4 separate regions of the Homo sapiens genome follow, and regions 2, 3 and 4 are each linked to region 1. The links are contacts of gene promoters, found by promoter capture Hi-C in blood cells and fetal thymus (Javierre and others, 2016). All regions are on one chromosome and are shown on one strand. Each heading gives the region's core, a stretch centred on a gene start or on the middle of the fragment in contact. The rest is flanking DNA. Distances are from core to core; before and after follow the strand shown.

Region 1 (5,913 bases), core at 1,491-3,990:
CCCAGGCTGCACCCCTGCCTTTATAAACCTGTGCTATACTGGACCCCTTTTGTAAAACTGCCAGCCTAGACTGAAGTGACAGTGCTCCCGACTCAGGACACTCCAACCTCACCCCTGTAACACACAGAACCAATCCTCCCAAAACAGTTTTCACATGCCAAAGCACAGAGAGATGGAGTATCTCCAAACCATCATCCGAGGAAACAAGTCATAATCTCTCTGTCCAGTGAGACTGCTCCCTACCACCAAGAAGTTAAAATCCCCGGAAGATGACAGACTGAAAGGAATCTTCTACTAATGAAGGTTTATTCCATACAATACCATAACCTGGATCAAAACAAGAATTTCAGCCCTACAAACTTTATCACCTTGAAACACATCAAACCTGCCCCTGCAAAACACTGGAATCATCTGGCTAGCTGTCAAGCACTGAGTCACTGGAAAAGTCTTTTAACCCCAACCTATTGTGAGGATGAGATGCATTTTCTGTTCCTGGAATTATTTATTCCTAAAATTTGCCTGAATAATCTTTCCTTGGTGCTTCAGGTTATAGCCAATCCACTTAGTCCAATGTTTTCAGTCACAGTCTCTTGTCGTTTCAACCTTTTTATTTTTATTTTATTTATTTATTTATTTATTTATTTATTTATTTATTTTTTGAGATGGAGTCTTGCTCTGTCACTCAGGCTGGAGTGCAGTGGCACAATCTCAACTCACTACAACCTCAGCCTCCCAAGTAGCTGGGATTACAAGCGTGTGCTACCACACCCAGCTAATTTTTTTGTATTTTTAGTAGAGACAAGTTTTCATCATGTTGGCCAGCTGGTCTTGAACTCCTGGCCTCAAGTGATCCACCCACCTCGGCCTCCCAAAGTGTTGGGATTACAGGCGTGAGCCACCGCGCCTGGCCTCTTCTTAACCTTTTTAGAAAGGGCCTTACAGCTGAACTCCTGGGGCCACTGCCACACTGGATCTTAACCCAACCATTCCGAAAAACAGAGGAACCAAATATAAGCAAAAGCAAAAAAAGCCACAATTCATTGCCTTACTTGATAGGATTCTTTATAATTAAAGTTATGTTATGGCTAAATGCCCCTAAAAATTATTTTCAATTAAAAACAATGCCCTTTTAATCATGGGAATTATACCATAAGACAATGTGTGTCATTACATAATTAATATGTAAATCTTACTAAGCACTTACTACATGCCAGGGTCTGTTTTAAGCACTTTATAGTGTTAACTTATTTAATCTTCATAACAGCACTATAAGCCAAGCTATTATTACCCTCATTTTACAGATGGGGATAGTACAACAGAAAGTTTAAGTACCTGGCCCAATATTACACAACTGGAAATGCCAAAGCTAGGATTCACAGCATGGCAGTCTGGCCCCAAAACTGATTATCCATTCATACCCTCACATGCAACCAGGAAGTCGGGGAAAGTGAATGATGGAAACTGAATCATCTATTTTATTACAGTGAATAGCCTTTGAGTTCTGAAAGTTACAAACTAAGTCCAGTTAAAGTACATAGAGCACTTACCTGACTTACAAGAAGTTAAGACTTACAAGAATTTAAATGTACATATTTCAAGACCATATCTTCACATAAATAAGTCAAGAACCTTTCTAGATTAGCATTGCCCAATCAGTAACACCAAGCAATTCTTTGATTCTCAAAATTGTGTGTTTAGATCTGGTTCCCACCGAATGTAACAAAGCCCCAAACACCTCTGGACTTCAAGTTGAAGCCCAGAGCCAGTGTGCTTCTGGCCACCTAGTCCCGAGACTAACATGCCCCTGGCCCCGGCCCGACACACCCCCGGGCCACCTAGTCCCTGGCCTAACATGCCACCAGCAATCTAGTCCGCAGTCTAACATACTCCTGCCCCGTCCTGACAGGCCCCCGGCCACCCAGTCCCCTGCCTAACACGCCCCCAGCCACCTAGTGCCTGGCCCAACATGACCCCGGCCACCCAGTCCCCGGCCTAACACGCCCCCGGCCATCTAGTTCCCGGTCACCCAGTCCCCGGCCTAACACGCCCCCGACCACCCAGTCCCCGGCATAACATGCCCCTGGCCCCTTCCCTACCTCGTCCCACGGCTTCTGGCACCGCAAGGGATGCCGCAGGCCACCACCGGACCCTGAGGCGCAGGACATCCCCCTGGGAGGAATCAGATCCCTGTGGCTGGCGGGAAGGTGGCAGCAGGAAGGGAGGGGTCACGGCGGAGGGCGGAGGGCGGGTCGCAGGAGGAAAGGAAGGAGCGGACTGGGGGCGAAGGTTGGCTAGGAGAACAGGTGGGTACCAAGATGCTGAAAGCGCGGCCGCCGCCGGAGGAGAAGGAGAAGCAGGAGTGGAAATCGGAGCGCTCCAAAAGCGGGCAGTCATTGTCACAGCCCCGGCGGGGCTGGGGGTGGCCTCTCGCAGCCCACGGGCCTCCACGGAGCCTCCGCGCGGCCGCGCTCCCTCGGCCCTTGTCCCGACCCAGCAGCGGCCCCCGGAGGCCCGAGCCCTCGCTTCAGCGCCCGCCCGGCCGCCGCCCTGGAGAGCCGCGCTTACCTCGGCCACGGCTGCCTCCCGCTCGGCCCCGAGCTTGGTCACCGGCTCATGCCGCGGGGCGCGGGCCACCTCCGCCCAGGTCGGATCGGTCCGAATCGCCAGCCGCCACTGCCAGGGCCGAGTCTGGGCTGGCGAGCAGCGAGCGAGGGGCCGGTAACCGGGATCCGGGCCGTCTGACACCGAGCGCACTGCGCATGCGGGAGCTGCCGGGCCGCGCCTCCTGCTGGACAGGAGGAGTCCGAGCACCGCTGCAGTGTTTTCCCAGGCAGGCGCGCTCAGGCTCCGCAGTGAAATGCTCAGACAGCCTCATTCATAATTAAAGAATCCTTAAACCCAAACGAGACACCACGCGTTGCTTATAAAACTAACAAATATGTAGACGTTTTATTATAATCAGTTCTGGTGAGCGTATAACATTCCTGGAGGGCAATTTGGTACTATCCATCAAACGGAAAATGCTGGTACCCTTCATTCCAACAAGCTCTCTGTACGGAGTTTGCCCTATGGATATTCTCAACAATGTTTGTCAAAAAGTTCCATGACAGCATTCTTTCTAATCATAGCGAAATGCTAGACACAATCGAAATAAATTATGGAATTTGATTGATTTGAGTAATGTGAGATAGTGCAATATATTTGGGTAAGGAAATATCTCCAAGATATTAGTTAAGATCAAAGCGTAGTCCAAAACAGCGGGCAAGTCACTTTTAGGTAAACTATGCATATGCAAAAACAAGAGGGAGAAATATATAAAGTAGGTGCTTATATTCAGGCATGTGTATAACTTTTTTCTGGAAGGAATGCAAGAAGAAATGAACAGCTTCAGGTGGAGTAGTTGTCGAGGCGGAAATGGAAGCATTTATGGCGAGGAAAGGTGGCTCACGCCTGTAATTCCAGCATTTGGGGAGGCCTAAACGAGAGGATCGCTTGAGCCCAAGAGTTTGAGACCAGCCTGGGCAGCAGAGCAAGACCCCATCTCTACAAAAAATAAAAAGTTAACTAGGCATCGTAGCACACGCTTGTAGTCCCAACTACTTAGGAGGCAGAGGCAGGAAGATTGCTTGAGCCCAGGAGGTCAAGGCTGCAGTGGGCCGTGGTCGTGCCACTGCACTCCAGCCTGGGTGATAGAGCAAGACCCTGTCTCCAAAAAAAAAAAAAAAAAACGCATTTTTGTTTTGTATCTTTCTCTATTATTTACATGATTTAGCCCTATCCATGCACACTAAAACCGCTGTCATAAAGCAGTAAGTGGAAACTAAAAAATTAAATTAAAATTCAGAGCGATGTTATTGAGAGGTTAATGAAATGACCCCTGGGCCTGCGATGTTGGTTTGGTAGAGTTGTGGGTCTGGCTACAGGATCCAAATCCCTTCTGGTCCCAGATGTACTTTGGCGCCATCTGGTGGAAGTTGTCACTGATAGCTTAAATATTCAAAGTGATGATTCTGAGACTAGATACCTACAGAGGCTTCCGGCAGCAACCTCGATTCCAGGGATATTTTTGTGAGTTAATGCCTGCTTGTCACAGATCTAGGGAGATTGGGATGAGGACATTCTGGGGATGGGACACTCATGTTCTGCTTCCCCACATCCAAGGGGGCATTGCTCTGCTTTCCAAATCAAATCCCCCCTGCAAATGATACAAAATGTAGCACACACCCACCCCATTTGAGAACTGGATGGGTGGAGAGCAGTGACAATCACCACTGGAACTGTATCCAAATTTATCTTATCCCAGGGAATATTGTTTTCACTTTTTGAAATAAGTCAACAATAGCTATCTGGTCTGGAAGATTGTGGCCTCTTTTTTTCTTCTCCATATTTATCTGTATTTTAAACATGTATGTTTTTAATTAATCCTTTGTTCTTTTATAAAATGAGAATTTGCCGTGTTAAAGAACTGTGTGAGGCACAGCCTCACACAATGCTGCCTATCTTCTTCATTTTTTATAACCTTAAACTTGCCTAATGCCTGGCATATAGTTAATTGCTCAATAAATAGTTGTTGAATGGAGAAAGGATGCCTAGACACTGGGAGGAGCTAACTAGAAATAAGACAATAAGATTATTCAAAGGAGAAGGTAAAAAGTGGCATAGAAGCATATAAACAAAATGCTACAGAATTCAAAAAAAAAAAAGAGGTGACATCCAGTTGGAAAAATCTAGGAAGAGTTCAATCAACAGTTGATATCTTTGTTTATCCTGGAGGACACTTAGTATTTTGACAAGCAGAGAGGTGAAAAGGGCATTCAAGGCAGAGAAAGAAAGTCATGAGCATGTGTTAAAGAAGGAAAAGCAGCTGGGCAGAATGGCTCACATCTGTAACCCCAGCACTTTGGGAGGCCGAGGCAGGAGGATCACTTGAGACCACAAGTTCAATACCAGCCTAGGCAAAAAAGTGAGACCCCCATCTCTGCAAAAAAAAAGAGTAATAAATAAAAATAAAGAAGGAAAAGCAATCAGAAAGAGCAAGTGTTTTTCAATCCAGTGTGGCTACATTTCTAGGCATAGAAACCATGCAAGTGAGGGAGGTGGGAAAATATAGAAGATGTGAAATTAGAAGCTACATGATGCGAAAGTATCCAAGGATGACTTCAGGGAGGAGTGGGAAATAAATTATAAGCCAGGACCTGAAGTTTCTGAGAAGGCAGAAAAGCGTCTTAGTAGCTGGTGGTTGAAGGAGGAGAGGTTGTAGAAAGATACTGCTTTACTGAATTTGAAGTTACAGGGCAAAGCAAAGATTACACAGATACCCCCTTACCCAGTGAGTCAGGAAATATGAAAGTCAGGATTAGAAAGGGAATGGCTTTCGTGGAAAATAGTGTCATCAGGGGAAAGTGAGTTTCCAATTAGGAGAAAGAGCTGGTGTAGGGTTGAATCCCATATTTAGCACTTCCTCTAAATACAGTTGATTCTTGAACAACACAGGTTTAAACTTTGCAGATCCACTGCTGTGCAGATTTTTTTTCAACAAAAGTTACACCAAGTGTGCCTGCCTCTCCAGCTTCTCTTTCCACCTCTGCTACCTATTCTGCCTCTGCCACTCCTGAGACAGTGAGACCAACCCCCCTTCCTTCTCCTCCTTGGCCTACACAACATGAAGATGAGGAGGATGAAGATCGTTATGACTTCCACTTAATGAATAGTAAATATATTTTTCTTCCTCCTGACTTTCTTAATAACATTTTCTTTTCTCTTGCTTACTTTATTGTAAGAATACAGTATTTAATATATATAACATATAAAATATGTTTAATAGACTATTTACATTATCAGTAAGGTGTCCAGTCAACAGAAGGCTATTAGTAGTTAAGTTTTGGGGGAGTCAAAAGTTATACATCATTTTTC
Region 2 (5,913 bases), core at 1,475-3,974, 460 kb before region 1:
CTGCCCTGCCACTCCTGATTAGAGATAGAGGCAGCTGTGGTGACATTGAGAGCAGTCTTCAGGCAGCTTCTAGAATCTCTGCCATACTCCCTGTCATTGTCTGAGTCCCACAGAAGAGTGTCTCCCTGTAGGAGTGCAGGGCCTGGGCACTGGTCCTGTTATGCTGACCTGCCCGAACATGGAGAGCCCAAGTTAAGAGTGCAAATCAAGGACCAGATACCTTGTATCTAAACATTTAACTGACTGTGAAATAAAATGTGTATTCTCCTGCCTTGACAAATGTTCTTTCTAATGACCAGGAAGACCATGTTCAAATTTAGCATTCTTGGACTCTTTAGAATTTTATGCAAGAACATGGCAGTGCGGGAGGATAGCCTGGCCCTAGCCCTCAGCCCACCCACTCCACTTCTCTTCACACTCCATCTCTGTCTTGTGTCACAAGTGGCCTAGGACTCAGGCATGTGGATACTCCAGCCCACACACCCAAACTTTGCCCACACGCCTTGCCTACAGCCACCTCTTCGTCACCTCTCTATGAATGCACATTCCAGGGACAGGATGTACCCTCAGGAGGATGGACCTGGGCAGGCAGCTTTGTAAACCTTAAAACTGGCTGGGGGGCTGAGCACAGTGGCTCACACCTGAAATCCCAGCCCTTTGGGAGGCTGAGGCAGGAGGATTAAAGAGCTCAGGGGCTCAAGACCAGCCTGGGCAACAGGATGAAACCCTGTCTCTACAAAAACTACAAAAATTAGCTGGGTGTGGTGGCGTGTGCCTGTGGTCCCAGCTACTCGGGAGGCTGAGGTGGGAGGATCGCTTGAGCCAGGGAGGCGGAGGTTGCGGTAAGCTGAGATTGCACCACTGCACTCCAGCTGGGCAACAGAGCAAGACCCTGTCTCAAAAAACAAAACAAAACAAAACAAAACAAAACAAAACAAAACAAAAAAACTGGCTTGGGCTGGATAGGCAGTCTAGGTTTTTAAACACCCAAAGCATGATCAAGGTCAGGTGTGGGCTCTGGGTGGCCACAGGTGCCCTCTTGTCCAGGTCTATGGTGACATTGCCATTTGGCCTTGTCTCCCCAGCTTCTAGCACATGCCTGGAAGCTTAAGGGACAGTTGTTGAGTAGATGTGCATCTGAGTCTAACTTAGTCCATTTTCTGTTGCTATAACACAATACCATAGGCTGGGTAATCGATAAAAGAATTTTATTTTGTATAGTTCTGCAGCCTGGGAATTCCAAGGTTGAGAGGCTACATCTGGTGAAAGCCTTCTTACTGACTCATCACATGGTGAGAGGGCAAGGGCATGCCACCGCAGGTCTCTCTTCATCCTATTATAAAGCTACCAGTCCTCATCATGAGGGCCCCATCCTGATGACCTTATCTAATCCTCCCAAAGGCCCTACCCCCAAATACCATCAACATATGAATTTGGGGATTCAGTTTCCAATACATTCAAACCATAGCAGAGTCATTCACTGAAATATCACATTGGGTTGGCTCCCTCAGCATTGTCCCTATCCCCTCTCTTCCAGCAGAAGGCAAGCTTTGTCATGACTCACCTTGGGCATTTTGCCAGGCAGAAAGCGCAGACACTTCTAGTGAGACTCTACCTCTAGTCCATTCTAGAGGTGGAGCCAGGAGTTCTGGAGGTGGGAAAAGGGGTGAGAAGAACCACCCTAGAAAGCCTTGAGAGAAGATATCCATGGCCAACTTGGAGATGGGGAAGACGGTGGTGTGGCAAGACCTCAGAGAGGTATGGCTATAGGATTGCCAGGCTCTCAGAAGATTCCCCCACCCCAAAGGTGGAAGATGAACAGCTGAGCAGGAGACTTCAAAGAACTTGTAGGCAAGAACATGGGGGCCAGTTCCCTGTTAGTGTCTGGGCCTAGGTTAAGGCCCCAAGACTTTTGCACATCTCTGGTGGAGGAAGGTAAAGAGAATGAGTGCGGGTATCTGTTTCCTACTGTTATGTAACAAACCATCCCACTCATTTATTTTGCCCATAAATCTGCAGTTTGGGGTGGGCTCAGCAGCAACGGCTTATCTCTGCTCTACGCAATGTCAGGTGGTTCAATTGGAGGTTGGGGATCCATTTTCAAGATGGTGTACTCACACACCTAGCAAGTTGGCACTTGCTGCCAGCTGGGAGGTCAGCCAGAGCTGTGGAGGCCTTTGGTCCTCTCCATGAGGCTGCTCCACAGGTTGCTTGAGCTTCTTCATAATTTGGCTGCCGGTTTTGAAGAACAAAGACTCACTTAGAAGTGCATGGCATTTTGTGACCTAGCCTTAGAAGTCATATAGGATCACTTCCTTTGCATCCTATTAGTAGAAGCAGTCACCAAGGCCCTGGTTCAAGAGCAGGGTACATAGTCTCTTTCTTAACCAGGGGGTAACAAAATTCTAGAAGAGTTTTCAAGAAAGGAGATATTGTTGCAGCCATCTGTGAAAAATACAATCTGCCCCAAGCGAGTCCTCAGAATGACTGGAGGAGGGTTTCTCTGATGGGAGCTGAGAGTTCAAACTCAATTGATTGTTTTAAAAAATGGTATACAGTATGTATCACACAAGCATTTGTGCACAAATGAATAAGAAGTTCAGCAGTGGACAACTGGTCTTGAGTAGCTGGATGTCTTTTTTTTGTTTTTTTTTTAGATGGAGTCTCACTCTGTTGCTCAGGCTGGAGTGTGGTCGTGCGACCTCGGCTCACTGCAACCTCTGCCTCCCAGGTTCAAGTGATTCTCCTGCCTCAGCCTTGTGAGTAGCTGGAACTACAGGTGTGTGCCACCACGCCCAGCTAATTTTTTTGTGTTTTTAGTAAAGACTGGGTTTCACCATGTTAGCCAGGATGACCTCGATCTCCTGACCTCGTGATCCACCCACCTCGGCCTCCCATAATCCTGGGATTACAGGCGTGAGCCACCGCGCCTGGCCTAGTAAGTGGATGTCTTAAGATCTTTCTTCAAGAGTCCTCAGAATAGAGTTAGCACTTCCCTCCCTAAACCTGCACTGTTTCCTTAAAGTTACAAACTTAAAAATTGCACTCATTTAATCCTGATAGCAACAACCCAGTGAGGCACATACTATTATGAGGCCCATTCCCAAGATGTGGAAATGGAGCACTCAGATGCTAAAGTCATACAACTAACAAGTGATGGAGGAAAGTGAAGTTGCAGCTTATATATAGCTAACCCAATTTTCAGTTCCTGAAATTGAGCCCTAGGGGAAAGGCCCAAGTTGGGACCCAGTGAGCGCCCAACACTGAATCGCAAAAGCTCGCACTGGATCAAGGAGGTTCCCCAGGGCCTTGAAGGGACCCTGCTTCCTGCTTACAGAAAGAAGGCTGGCCCCAGAAAGCTGGGCTCCAGCACTTGCTTGGCATAACCCCGCCCTATCCTCTGTCCTCTTGCCGAGTCTCAGGCCAGGAAGTGGTTAATAGCACTTTCCCACACTTTCTGTTTCCATTTCTCTATTCCTGAACACAGTCATTCCTGCATTTGAATGGGCTCAGCAGGACCACCGACCTTTATTTTTTTCTCCAAAGCACTTAAAGGGGATTGGAACTCTAAGCCCATTATAGCTGGGTTGTAGCTGAGGACAGGGGCTGAGTTCCCACAGAAGACACTGAGCCATTGATTTGTTCCTGTCTCAGTCATTTCAGAAAGATCAGTGAGGCCCCTGCTCAAATCCTGCCCTGCCGCCTACTACATCTGAAGGTCCAGGGGTTACTCTTCAGGGGGCTTTTAGCCCCTGTACATTGCCATGTTGCCATAGCAACTACGACACTAATAATGGCAGCCACCGTTTTAAAAGTAAGCTGTAAAATAACTAATTTAAATATATTTAACTAATTTGATAACTAGCATTTGCGTAGCACTTTACATATTCTAAAGCTTATTTATATTTATCTTACAACTGTGGCACTTGGGTAAGTCTTTGAAACTATTAAATCATGTCCCCCCCTCCCCAAATTCCCTGTTCTACCCGTTTATTTTTCTTTTTAGGCATCAGCTTAAACCCATGGTAGGGTTATATACATCCCAATATATGTCATTTGTTTATAATAGATATGTATGTACTATTTTATTAGCCATTTTGCATAATATGAACTATGCACAAAGACAAATATTTTATTTTATTTATTATTATTATTATTATTATTATTTTTGAGACAGATTCTCACTCTGTCGCCCAGGCTGGAGTGCAGTGGTACAATCTTGGCTCATTGCAACCTCTGCCTCCTGGGTTGGAGCAATTCTCCTGCCTCAGCCTCCCAAGTAACTGGGATTACAGGTGTGTTTCACTCACGCCCAGCTAATTTTTTTGTATTTTTAGTAGAGACGGGGTTTCACCATGCTGGCCAGGCTGGTCTTGAATTCCTGACCTCAGGCAATCCACCCACCTCGGCCTCCCATAATGCTGGGATCACAGGTGTGAGTCACTGCGCCTGGCCAAAAAACAAAAATTTTAAATGATAATTATTTAAAATATTGTATATATATATCTATAAAATAAACAGAAAGCAGTCCTATTATTTTCTCCTTGAACCCCAGCGGATCACATTGGAGACCATCGGCCACGCCTTTAGGGAGGGATTTTTGGAAGAGCAAAGCAGAAGAAAGGGGACTACTCTGGGCAGCGCTTTTTCAGTCTCCAGATAGAAGCACACCTTGGAGCTGTTGCAGGTTCCTTTCCCAACCACCACACTGAAGCGAATATTGCAATAAAGTGAGACACACAAATTTTTTTGGTTTCCTAATGCATGTAAAAGTTATGTTTACCCTCCACCATAGTCTATTAAGTATGCAATAGCATGTCTAAAAAATGTGCATACCTTACTTAAAAACTGTTGATCCTGGCCAGGTGTGGAGGCTCATGCCTGTAATCCCAGCACTTTGGGAGGCCGAGGTGGATGGATTACCTGAGGTGTGGAGTATGAGACTAGCCTGGCCAACATGATGAAACTCTGTCTCTACTAAAAATACAAAAATTAGCTGGGTATGGTGGCGGGCGCCTGTAATCCCAACTACTCAGGAGGCTGAGGCACGAGAATTGGTTGAACCCAGGAGATAGAGGTTGCAGTGAACCGAGATCACACCACTGCACTCTGGGAAACAGGGCGAGAGATTCAGTCTCAAAAAAAAAAAAAATTGATCCAAAATTCTGACAAAAAGTGAGTGCATACTGTTGGAAAAATGGCACGGACAAATTTGCTCAGTTCAGTTGCCACAAACCTTCAATTTGTAAAAAACACGTTATCTGTAAAGCGTAATAAAAAGCAATGTATGCCTGCACTCATAAGCCCCTGAGATGGATGAGGAGGTGCTGCAGAAAGGGGAACTCTCACAGCTGTTCTTCGGTGGAGCTGCACTATATCAGTGGGGAGATCTTTCCCTGAATCAGGCCTGAGATCTAAAAGAACACACCTGTGGCCCAAGAAGCTGATGGTGTAGACGTTCTCTCCCTTATACAGTTGAGAAGGCCAAGGCTTAGTTGAGTTGAAAAAGTTTTGAATTTGTGGCCAGCATTTAAAAATTGGGGAATTTTATGTTGATTTTTAGATGTATAGGGATAGGGACATCTGAGCCTCCTGCTGTGCCTTCCAACGGGGCCACAGCGGATGGACCTGAGTTGTGGCTGACCTCTTTATTTGCGACATATGACCTCCAGCTGGCTACAGTCCCCACTGTGCCTATGGCTCATCTAGCCTGCTTCCCTCATTTTTGTGACCTGCCTGGTTCCCATGGGGAACTGAGTTTGCAATCCGGGGAGCAATACTGGCTGAATTCATGTTCATATTGAGAGCATTCTGAGTAGCTGGCAGGGCCACACAGACCTTAGCGGGAAGACAGGGACACCACTTTCCAGGATGATCCCTGTGAAAACTGCCATGTTTGCACTGCCCTCCTCT
Region 3 (5,913 bases), core at 1,493-3,992, 420 kb before region 1:
GGGACCTCAACCCCAGCACAAAAGGATGTAGAGGGGTAGGAGGCCAGGGTGACTTGGGAGCCAGGGGCTTTATCCTACCAAAGGAAAGGATCTCTCCTGGAGCGAGGTCAGTGGAGTGGGTGTTAGCGAGGGCCTGGGCTTTAGGGAGGCTCATGGATGACCCAAGAGTTTCATGCCTGAAGGCTCCTGTGCTCCCCCAGTGAGAAGGATCAAAAGTCCACCTGCAGGGTCTCAGCATTCCCTAGGTCCGCCCTCCAGAGCTGAGACCTAGCTGAGAGAGAGGAGGTGTGAGAAGAGCTGAGGGGCCTTGGAAAGAGTGTGGGACATCCTAGAACCCTGGCTCAGCCACCTGCTGGCTGTGACCCTGGCGGGGCATGTCCCTTCTTTGGATCTCAGTTTTTCCACTCTGTAAAATGGGTTGATCATCATAAGGCTGACCTCACCAAATTGCTATAAGGATCAAATCAGAGGACATATGTGAAGTCCCATTACTGTGCATATGTGAAGTCATATCACTGAATCTATGGGATGCCAGACTCAGAAAAACAGTAGCAAGGGAAAAAGAGAAAACTTGTTCCATGTTTGCTGATTTTCCCCAAGGCTGGTGCTTCACGGACTTGACAAGCACTTTTGTATTTTGGAATCAGACAGACCTTGGTTTGAATCCTAGCAAGTGATTCTCCAAGGCTCAGTTTTCCTGTCTATGAAATGAATGGATGAACACAGTCAGTAATAAAATACTGAAATGCTGAGCACAGCCCCTGGCTCATAGTAGAGCGCAATAAATGGTTTAGTTAATATCACAGGTTAAAGACGAAGAATAAGGGGGATCCCTGCCTTGATGGACAAGGAGAAAAGCAGGGCCCTGATGAGGGAGCCCCGCACTGCCAGGATGGAGCAGGAGTGTCAAAGGAAGCCTTCCAACAGCGGTGGCACAGGCGCCAAGGCAACAAGGAAGGGTGGGAGCTCTGCAAGGCACCGGGCACTCCAGGCAGAAGGACCTGTGTGGGGAAAAGCAAGGCAGCTGGAAAAAGCAAGCGGAGCTGCGAAGGCGCCAAGGTATAAACACAGACCAAGAGCCAAGGGTGGGGCCGGTACAGGGGGTCACTGGGAGATGCCAGCACCCTCCACCCAGGCGTCCTTCGGGGCCAGCCAACCTAAGGAAGGAGGCCAGGCCTCACGCCCCTCTGTGCCTGACCCCTAGCCACACTGCCCTGTGGGGCCCGGCCTGGTTTCCCCTCCACTGCTCAGGGCGGAAATCCAGCAGGGGCAGCCAGGCCGACATCCAACCCTCCCACCGCAGGCCTGGCCTCAGCCCCTCTCCGGGCCTTTAACGAAGCCATAAATCCCCCGCAGGGCCGTGGGAGGGGCGGCGGCCCTGCACATGTCCCGGCGGCCGGACAGAGGCCGGCATCTCTGGCTGGCGGTGACTGAGCGCCCCGACACCCCATCACTCATTCCCCGCGCCCAGCTGCCCCCGCCTCGGCAGCAGCCCATCCATCTCAGCCGGCAGCTTTCAAGTCCGGCCCCAGGCCCCTCTGCTTAGTGTTAAGATGAGCCCGGCTCACGCGGACTGTTCTTATTTATCTGGAGGTTCGTCCCACTGTGGCCATCACTCTGCGGGGCGGCCCCAGTTCCCGGGACAGGCCCCCAGAATGCGATCCTCCTCCGTTTCCTTTCCCGCCCCCACCTGGCAACGCACAGAGAAGGCCTGCAGCCCGAGGGCGGATTTGTTTCAGTCGCAGGTCGCTGGGCGTTTTGACCTCTGCTGTTTTCTTGGAAGGCTTTCAGCAGCCCTTTGAGGCATCAGTGTCCGTGCTCTGTAGCGGTGGAAACTGAGGCACAGAGAGGGAAGCTCAGAGTTCTCCTGGCTGTCTGGCTCTGATGCAGGACCAGTGGCCAATCTTTGGCCAAATCCTGCGAGGCCTCCTGGGGCCTTTGCATGGCTGCCTTGCAAGTTTGGTCAGATCAATTTTCGTCCAGCATTCTCTGCTACACTGCAAAGTCCTCCAGGGCAAGGATCCACTCACGGAGGCCTTGCTGGACTCAGTCATGGGAAGGGGGAGATTAGTGTTGGGGTTTTGGGCATGTTATGCATTGAATGTTTGTGTTCCCCCCAAATTTACATGTTGAAGCCCTAACCTCCAATGTGAAGGTTTTAGAGGTGGGGTGTTTGAGAGGTAATTAGGTTGAGATGTGGTCATGAGGGTGGAACCCCCATCTTGGGATTCACGTCCTTATAAGGAAAGGAAGAAACACCAGAGTTACACCTCTCTGTCTCTCTCCTTGCCACTTGAGAACACAGTGAGAAGGTAGCCAGGAAGAGAGCCCTCACCAGGAACATAATCTGCCGGCACTTTGATCTTGGACTTCTAGCTTCCAGAACTAGGAGCAATAAATGTCTGTTGTTTAAGCCACCCACCCTGTGGTGTCTTGTTAAGCCAGGCCAAGCTGACTACAACAGAAGGGTCGTTCTGGAATCAGATAGAACTGAAGCCCTGACTCTGCCACCTCCCAGCTTGGGGGGAATCGTTGATGTCTTAGTCACAGTTCCTCTTCTGCAAAATGAGCACAAGTGCCAGAGCCCTCCAGGTCACACATGCAAACTTCCAGGAGCCATGTGGGTCTGTCAGGGAGCTCCATGAAGGCCCACAGCTTCATTTATGATCACCATCACCCTCTCAGGGGTGCTTGGCATGGGGTCCTCAGAGGGCAGATGGCCTTCTGGGTTTAATCTTGTCATCTCAACAGTTCAGGGGCCCTCGCAGACCAGACATATTTTGCCTGTGGTCAAGGAATCCAGGCTGGGCAGAGTCTTCCATCTTGGAGGCGACTGGAATTCTGACAGCCAAGCATGGAAGCCACAGTCATCTCTCAGAGGATGACCACCTGTGTCTTTGAGGAATAAGAAGGGGGAAATAAATTAATTATTACTTTAAAACAAAGTTTGTTCAAGAGATAGAAATCTTTCAAAACACAGGATAATAAAAGCCACCTCCCTTGGGGAAAAGTCTGGGAAGCTCTAACTTGGTCCTGCCCCAAGCCCCACACCCCCACCAAGAGCCCTCTGAGGGGCGGTCTCCATTCTACAGGGGAAGATATTGAGTGTCAGAGTGCTGACCTGACTTGCCCCAGGTCACACCTTTAGAGGCCAGGCCAGGCCAGGCCTCCGCTCTGCAGAGGTAGGGCCCTTGGGCAGGAAGAACTGGCCTGGCACAGGCTTCAGGCAGACCCGCATCCCTGCCTGGCTCTGCCACCTGCTGCTGAGAGATTTTGAGCAAATCACATCTCCTCATCAACCAAGATGGTGTGAAACCACTTGAGTGAGTTAAAGCACTGTTCTCTAGGTGACAAGGCTCTAGTGCACATTTTCAGAGATGGGGTCTGGTTCCTCCTGACCCCCCAGGTTCTGGTGTCCACGGTCCCCAGTTCCCACAGCCTCCTTCTGCAGCCCCTGATGCCTGTTCTAGGGGCCGAGGGCTAGAGGTCTGGCTGCCAGGGTGAGGTGGTGCTTCTTAGAATAGGGTCCCTTGTCTTCTGCTGCTTCCCAGACATGGAGATCTCTTTGATCATGGAAGATGGGCTAAAGATGCTTGTATCTTTGAATTTTTGGTTATAGTCCTTTTGGACCTCGGGACATGGAAGACAGAAGAAGAACTGGCTTATTCATGGGGAGGCAGCACAGACATCCAGGCTGCTATTTTTACACTTGGAAAATGGATGAGAGGGAGGTTGGTTAAATGATCTGTTAGGAACCTCCTGGCTGAGGGTTGGCTGCAGACATCCCTGGTGCATCTCCTGCAGGAGGCAGGCTTCTCTGGGTCCCTGTCCACCCAGAGGATTGCAAACCCCACAAAGCCCAAGCCCAGAAAGATTTGAGTGACCAGCCCCTTAGAAAAATCAGGATCAGAGAAGGAAAGTGGTTTACCCAAGACCACACAGGATATGAATGGAGAAGCCCAGGGAACAACCCAGGTGTCCCGACCCCAGCCCAGGGCTCACCCACTGCACCATGCCATGTGCGTTAAACAACCTGATTGTTGAATGAATGAACAAATGAAAGTTCATTTAGAAGCTCTAATCACCTCCCTCTCTCTTCTCCCTTATTCCCTCCCTTCTTTTTTTCTTTATTCTTTCTTTTCTCCTTCCTCCTCTCCCTCCTCCATTCTCTTTACACACACACACACACACACACACACACCCCAAATGTCTGCTCTGGGCCAGGTCTTGTCTTGGCTACTGGAACACTAACTAGCTGACCACATGCCTGTCCTCTGGTGACTCTCAGAGAAGTGGGCAAGATCCTCTCAGAAGCCCCCAGACCTTGCTGGGTGCCTGGGAGTCCCTGATCTCCCTGGAGCCCAGCCTTGGCTGCCTTCTCTCTCTTCTGCAGGTCACGCCCAGGATGTGAAGGGGTTAAAAAGCACAGGGCAGGGCAGGCCCACGCTCACTCATTTGGCCCAGCCACCTATCCAGGCCACTTCTGGGGGCTTGCAGTGTTTCTTTTTCTCTTCCTCCTCTCCTTTTTTTTCTAAAGAAACATATGTCACTCGCCATAACTCATGTGCTTATTATAATTATGACCATATGCTTAATGGGATGTAATAAAACCACTGCTAACCTGGCCCCTGCTCACAAATCTCCCCCCATCACTCCCACTCCACTGGCCGATCTGCCGGCCCCTGGGCTGCTTCAAAATGTTTTCATGGCAAGACTGACCTGAGGAAAGGGGAGAAAAAAGGGGAAGTGAGCTCAGTCATTCATTCTTTTGTTCATGTGTTCATTCATTCATCCATTTGCTACTTATTGAATACCTACTATGTGCCAAGTTCTAAGAGGGCACCAGTGAATGGTACAGACAGAGCTGATGGGAAGGGTAGATGTCTTATAAACAGATAATTCAACATTTATTTAATTACAGCTAGCCACAGAGGAGACTGCATTACAGGAAGGCCCACCAAGACTGAATTGTTGCCTTCCAGAGCAGAACCACATCTGATGCATTAATATACACTGTCCTTAGTAGGGCTTTTATAAATATTTGTTCAATGAATAAATGAATGAATGAATGAGTGAGTTGTAGATCAGAAAATGCTTTCCTGAATAACAGAGATTGAGTTATAAAATAATGCCTCCTAAGAGGAGTGCATAAGCGAATCCATGGGGTACATGAAGAAAATAGTAAAACTTTCATTTATTGTTATTTGTCAATCTTAAAAACAAGATACCAAAATTTTCTCTGATGTTTTATGCACAGATTGATGGCAAAGTATATGGCATATGTATGTAAAATTTATAAATAGTTATGCATACAGTTGGCGGAGGGTGTGCTCAATGTTTTTTGATTTGTTTTGAGACAGAGTCTCATCCTGTTGCCCAGGCTGGAGTGCAGTGGTGCAATCATAGCTCACTGCAGACTAGGCCTCCTAGGTTTAAGTGATCCTCCTACCTGAGCTTCTGAAGTAGCTGGGGCCACAGGCACACACTATCACACCTGACTAATTTTTTATTTTTTTTAGATAAAGGGTCTCCCTATGTTGCTCAGGTTGGTCTCAAACTCCTAGGCTCAAGCAATCCTCATGCCTTGGTCTCCCAAAGTGTTGGGATTACAGGTATGAACTACCATGCCCATCAATGTTTTTACTGTTGGAGAGGGATACATGATCAAAAGAGTTGGGAAACCTCTTGTTTTTGCCTGCGTGGGCTGCCATACAAAGTATCTTAAGTATCTTAAACAATACCTTAAACAACAGACATTTATTTCTCATGTCCGGAGTTCTGGAGGCCGTGAAGTTCAAGATCAAAGTGGTGGCTGATTTGGTTCCTGGTGAGATCTCTCTTCCTGGCTTGCAGGCAGCCACCTTCTCACTCTGTCCTCACATGACCTTTCCAGAGAGAAAGAGAGAGAGCTCT
Region 4 (5,913 bases), core at 1,047-3,546, 400 kb before region 1:
GCAGTGACCCTATTTCCAAAGAAGATCACATTCTGAGGTGGTGGGTGGGGGAGCCTGGATTTGAACATATACATTTAATTGGTGGACACAATTTGACCCATAACCAGAGGCTCCTGCCCTTAACCAGGCCAGACTGAATGTGACTTAGGTGCTATCAATGGAGTTGAGAAGGCTGGTTAGACTGAAGATTATTTTGAAAACAGAGCCGATAGGATTTGCTGATGGATTCAATGTGGGGAAGTAGTGATGATGGGGAGGGAAGACCTGTTCAGACTTCAGATTCTGGCCTGAAGAACCAGGGGGATGTTGGGTGGGGGACTCGGAAGAGGATTTGGGGGCAAGAAGTCAAGAGCAGGGTTTTGCAGCCAGATGGGGTGACACATATGGTGTTTGCCCCCGCTTACCTCGTGGGCCCACCTTGTCCTGGGCTGGAGGAAGCAGACCCTAATGAGAGGCAGCTGTGGCCAGGCGGCCGGCTCACATTTGCTCTGCTTTGAGCATCAAAGCCCCGCGAAGTGGTTGTCCAGCCCTGAAGGCCATGGCCATCCATCTTGGAGGCTGCACTGCCAAGAAACCAGGTTCCAGTGGCCAGTGCCTGTTCACTCCATGAGGAGCAACCCCCGCCGCCCCGCCTACTTCCCAGCACAATTTCACCGCTGCAACGTTGGAAGCTGCCCCTCCACCCAAAGCCCTCCCCGCACCCCATGCCTGGTTTAATCCTGCCTGAGGAGATCAGACACCTGAGAGAAGCAGATGAAAGCAGAAAGGGAGAGGTTCGTGGGGGCTTGGCTGATCACCCCCAAAGTGACCCCAAAAATGTCAAATTCTATTTCATAACACAAACGGGGAGCCATTTAGTAAGACGGTTCGAAGCCTAAGCTTGGTCATTATCCTACCTGGGTTAGAACTGATACCTGCCTCTTACAAACTCAAATGTAAAATAGAAGGGAAAATGATACCTGGCTTGTAAGATGATTGAGAGACCTAAATAAGATGGGACATATGTAAAAATTTTAGCACAGTGCTTGTCATATTGTAAGTTCTTGATAAGTTATTATTATTACTGTTGTTATTTTGGGGTAAGCATCTTATTTTAAATTGTATATTTAAAATGTTTACACTAACAGACCCACAAAGGCCCAAACCTTCTATATGGATCTTCTGCCTAATTTAGAAATGTAAGCAGTTGTCCGGGCGCGGTGGCTCACGCCTGTAATCCCAGCACTTTGGGAGGCCGAGGCGGGGCGATCAAGAGATCAGGAGATCGAGACCATCCTGGCTAACACGGTGAAACCCCGTCTGTACTGAAAAAAAATACAAAAAAAAATTAGCCGGGCGTGATGGCGGGCGCCTGTAGTCCCAGCTACTCCGGAGGCTGAGGCGGAAGAATGGCGTGAACACGGGAGGCGGAGCTTGCAGTGAGCCGAGATCGTGCCACTGCACTCCAGTCTGGACGACAGAGCGAGACTCCGTCTCAAAAGAAAAAAACAAAGAAGAAATGTAAGCAGTTATGGTATGGACGCAGCCTCAAAATTAGTAATAAAAATATTAATAACCAAGCCATGTGCTAGTATAGAAAAATCACCTACGGGAGTCCACAAGCATGTAATTCTAATCTCAGTTCTGCTGTTTACTAGCTGTGTGACCTTTGTAAAGTTACTTTACCTCTTTGAGGCTCTGAATCTGGCTCTAAAGGGCCAGATCCTTTACATACATCATCTTCAATACTCATGGGTATCACCCTGTCTCTGGCTCTCAGTAAATACACAGCAAATGGTAAGTATTATGGCAGATCAACGGTGTCAATGTCCCCCTCCTTGTTATCTACTCCTCTTTGTATTCTTGCCATCTGTTATGTAACGTTTTAGTGTCCTTCCTCTGCAACTCAGACATGTGGCCTGCTTTGACTAGTGGGATGTTAGCAGATGTGATACAAGCACGTGTTTTAAAAAGCTTCTGTACATTTCCCACTTCTCTCTGGAGCCTTTGTACCTGCCATGGGAATATGCCCGGGCTATCCTGTTGGAGGATGAGACTTGTGCAGCAAAGTTGAGTCAGCCAGTCATCTCAGACGAGGGCATCCTAGATCAGCCAAGAGTTGGCCGACTCCAGACATGGGCATAAGCCCAGCCAAGATCAGCAGAACTTTCCAGACCACCCACGGCTGACAGCAGATGCATGAGCCAGTCCAGCCAAGGTCAGTTGAGCCCAGCCCACACCAATGAAACTCCATAGACTCTTGAGCCAAATCTATGTTTATTGTTGTGTGCCTCTGAGTCTTTGTGGTTGTTACTCAGTATTATTGTGACAAGACATAATGGAGGCAGATATTAATATGCAACCTTCTGGGTGCTTGCTTAAGAAATATGGACTCTTCCAGATGGGCCCTAGGGGATCTGGGACCCAAAGACATTGACAGTTGTAGTGAGAGTTCACCCTTGTCTTAATAGCTATAAGATTATTTAACTGTGAACCCATAATTGTCAAAATCTAAAATGTAATAACTCAACTTTGTTGTTTTGTAAATAGCCAAGAATAAAAATGCCAGAAGCATTAGTGATGTTGGCCAGATGAAGGAATTGGGAAGGGAAAGGCAGGCAGATCACCTCTCTTTATATGTCTTCAAACTCAAAGCTTGCAGACTTCTTGGCCCCAGAATTATAAATTAGGCCCTTCTCCTGAGGACCTCCTCTGCTTATTACGCAAATCTGATTCTAGAGCCTCTGAATGTGATGGTTTTAGCCAAATCCTGGGTAATTTGTCATTGCTGAACATAAAATTTGCTTATGAGCCTGCAATCCTTGTAGCTCCCAGCAGCCTGCAATCCTTGTAGCTCCCAGCAGCCTACAATGGAGGGAATCTGTGCAAAGGTTGAGAGCGCAGCTTGGCATCAGGCACCCTGGACTTGAATCTCAGCTCCCCTGCTCTGCAGCTGTGCAACTTTAACCAAACTTGGAATCTCTCTGGGAGGTTTTTACAGTAGCTCCTCCTTGGTAAATAGAATAAACTTGGTACCTGTTTCTTAAGGTTCAGTGAGGTAAAGCAAAGAAGGCATCAGCACACAGGAAGTGCTTAATGATTTGTAGTTGTTATTAACGGTCCTTTGATCCTAGTTGCAACATTTAGCCTGTACACCTCACACTGTCCCAACAAGGGTCAGCCTTGAGACCTCAGGGTTATAATCGATGCAATGCCCCATTCTTCCATTTTTAGATTTCCCAAGCCTCTTCTCTGAGACTCAAGCCAGTTTTATTTCTTGGGCCAGACTCTCAAATTATCAGATAGCTAAGAATTATTGACAATCCTATCAGTTAAGGTAAAGTTAGTTGATGTTATGGATAGAGGAAATCCCAAGATCTTAGTGGCTAAACACAATAGAATTTTATTTCTCATTCACACGAAGTCTGAACGGCAGTGGAATACCAGGGAGATGTACTCAGGTCCTAGGCTGACGGAGGCTCTGCCGTCTTTACCCTCTAGCTTCAACAGTCCTCCTGGGCATCAGCATTCAGCTGGCAGCTAGGAGAAGAGAGAGGATGTGGAGGACCACAGCAGGTATCGAACAGGCCCAGCCTGGAAATGGCTTATTACTCTGCTCACATTCTACTGGACCCAGAACCAGTCACATGACCACACACAGAGGCAAGGGGGCCAGGAAACATAGTCCCTGGCTGGGCTGCTGTTTTCCAGCAACGACTCAGCTGGGGAGCATACACTTTTGGTGCACAGATGGCCACCTCTGCGTCAATGGCCAGCACTCCCTGAGCACCTACCATATGCCTGGCACCATGTGATGCCCTTTTCACCCATCATTCATGGATGCTCACGGTAACTCTATGAGGGAGACACCCTTCTCATCACCTGCATTTTCCAGCTGAGGAGTGAGACCCTGAGAGATGACCTCTAGCTGCAGGGCTGGCTCTCAGAAGCAGTGGTTTCCTCTGTGCTCTGCTAAGTGTTCTGGCAAGGTGGGTGGGGTCCATTTCTGAACTTGTCCTGGAAGGCTACCTATTGGTGCTGTCTGACCAACACCACCACTGTCTCGCCAGCCTCTGTATTGACCATGCTCCATCACCCCCTGTGCAGAGACCCTGGGCTGGTCTCCCTTCCCAGCATCACCACCCCTCAGCTCTTGCCAAGCCATTAGCCCTTCTACAGCTCTACATCAGGCATGCCTTTGCTCTGCCTTCTGTCATAGCCAAGATCAGGCTGACCAGCTCACTAGATTTCCAATGTTAATGTGTGAAAGAGCCACAGGGAGGGCTTTGTGCTCAGCTGCCATGATCGCTGTGGCTGCGGGGGGTTACCACCTGTGGCAGACAGAAAAGTGCCCCCTCCTCCAGAGATGGTCACATCTTAATCCCCTGGAACCTGAGAATATGTTGCCTTACATGGCAAAAGGAAATGTGAAGATGTGATTAAGTTAAGGATTTTGAGATAAGAGATTATCTGCGATTATCTGGATAGGCCCAGTGTAATCACAAGGATCCTTATGAGAGAAGCCAAGAAAGTCCAAGTCAGAGAGGAAATGTGACAATGGAAGAAATGGTTGGAGTGATGCACTTTGTGGTTTTGTTTTTTATTTTAGTCAACAAATATTTATTGTGTGTCTGAGCAGAGTGCTGAATTCAGTACCGTGATGGCAGGGAATGAATACAAAATTAAGAAAAGCAATAATAAAAATTATAAAATTAATGATACAATTTAGGTTTTCTTTTTTTTTTTTTTTTTTTTTCTGAGATGGAGTCTCACTCTGTCACCCAGGCTGGAGTGCAGTGGCTCAATCTCGGCTCACTGCAACCTCCGCCTCCCGGGTTCAAGTGATTCTCCTGCCTCAGCTTCCCCAGTAGCCGGGATTACAGGTGAACACCACCACACCTGGCTAATTTTTATACTTTTAGTAGAGATGGAGTTTTGCCATGTTGGCCACACTGGTCTCAAACTCCTGACCTCAAGTGATCCGCCCGCCTCAGCCTCCCAAAGTGCTGGTATTAGAGGCATGAGCCACTGCGCCCAGCCCAATTTAATTTTTCTAACAAGCCTTTCCTCTGGGCATTATAATCCCCATTTTATAAATGTGCAGAATGAGAAAAAGAAAAGTTAAATTACCTGCTTAACATCATATAACTACATGAATGTTCATGATTTGAACTCAGGTTTATTTGCAAGAAAACTGTTCTGCATTTATGTCAAATTTGAGAATAACTGGCCCTGCTGTCAAAAGGCTCATTATCTAGTGATAGATACCAAAAAGTATATGATTAGCAAAAGGACTAGGCAGATTTTGGTGAATACATATGGGTTTAAACAAAATGGTAGCCAAAACACAAAATACATCGAGAATAGCAGAAGAGGAGAGGACAGTAGCTGGAGATGAGATTTTATGAAGTTATATGAAGAAATCTTATGAAGTTCCTGACTTGCCATGCCAAGGTATTTTATTTTGTGTGTTTTCTTCAAAATGTTTTATGTGTGATTATTTTCTTTTTGAGTTGGAGTGATCCACTTTGAAGATGAAGGAAGGGAGTTGCACCTCCTTTCTCTAAAGTGAGTCCCTTGGTCCTATGCAATGTTATGCAGGCTCCTATGTGGATGGATGAACACACTGTAGACCTTGGGTGGTATTGGCTGAAGCCCTGTGGGCAGAAAGGGTAAACTCATACCTCGAATATGTGTCAATTCCAGTGGAGATAAAAGTCTGTTCATTCCGGGGTGGAAGGAAGCCAGTGTCATCACTTGCCACTGAGTAGCTATTTGGGCTCCTTGAGGGAAGAGGCCATATCAAGGGCTTAGCATGGATCACATTGCTGGCAAGTTGGATATTTAGCAATAGCTAGATCAGTCTTGATGATGGGATCTCTCCTATGTAAGGCCTCCATCTCTGCCACTGTGGCCACTCCATTCAGATGCTAA

What was found. Contacts are between HindIII fragments. The CHiCAGO score rates a contact against its expected background, and 5 or more counts as called.
Region 2: a contact is called between a fragment that was not itself captured here and the fragment with the promoter of EXT2 in region 1, in 5 of 17 cell types (endothelial precursors, naive CD8 T cells, total CD8 T cells and 2 more). The highest score is 8.3, in endothelial precursors.
Region 3: a fragment that was not itself captured here is called in contact with the fragment with the promoter of EXT2 in region 1 in 1 of 17 cell types (endothelial precursors); the score reaches 5.9 in endothelial precursors.
Region 4: a contact is called between a fragment that was not itself captured here and the fragment with the promoter of EXT2 in region 1, in 1 of 17 cell types (endothelial precursors). The highest score is 6.4, in endothelial precursors.

What each region holds. Positions count from the first base shown.
Region 1 is chr11:44,092,505-44,098,417 of GRCh38, reverse strand. It overlaps EXT2 (exostosin glycosyltransferase 2), which reads right to left and starts at 2,740. Exons shown (of 14, transcript NM_207122.2): 1 at 2,566-2,740. RefSeq lists an enhancer at 1,784-1,833 and a silencer at 2,254-2,873. The HindIII fragment of the contact is 9,066 bases long and covers 1-5,913 here.
Region 2 is chr11:44,557,107-44,563,019 of GRCh38, reverse strand. No RefSeq gene overlaps it. Among named protein-coding and RNA genes, the nearest start is that of CD82, 5.6 kb to the left of the region's middle. RefSeq lists enhancers at 184-683, 684-1,185, 3,221-3,857. The HindIII fragment of the contact is 2,347 bases long and covers 1,551-3,897 here.
Region 3 is chr11:44,515,817-44,521,729 of GRCh38, reverse strand. LOC105376646 (a long non-coding RNA gene) reads left to right here. Exons shown (of 5, transcript XR_931232.1): 4 at 795-1,059; 5 at 2,752-2,903. It overlaps LOC105376645 (a long non-coding RNA gene), which reads right to left. Exons shown (of 3, transcript XR_931229.1): 2 at 5,742-5,885; 3 at 4,560-4,719. Among named protein-coding and RNA genes, the nearest start is that of CD82, 47 kb to the left of the region's middle. The HindIII fragment of the contact is 9,306 bases long and covers 1-5,913 here.
Region 4 is chr11:44,494,996-44,500,908 of GRCh38, reverse strand. No RefSeq gene overlaps it. Among named protein-coding and RNA genes, the nearest start is that of CD82, 68 kb to the left of the region's middle. The HindIII fragment of the contact is 681 bases long and covers 1,956-2,636 here.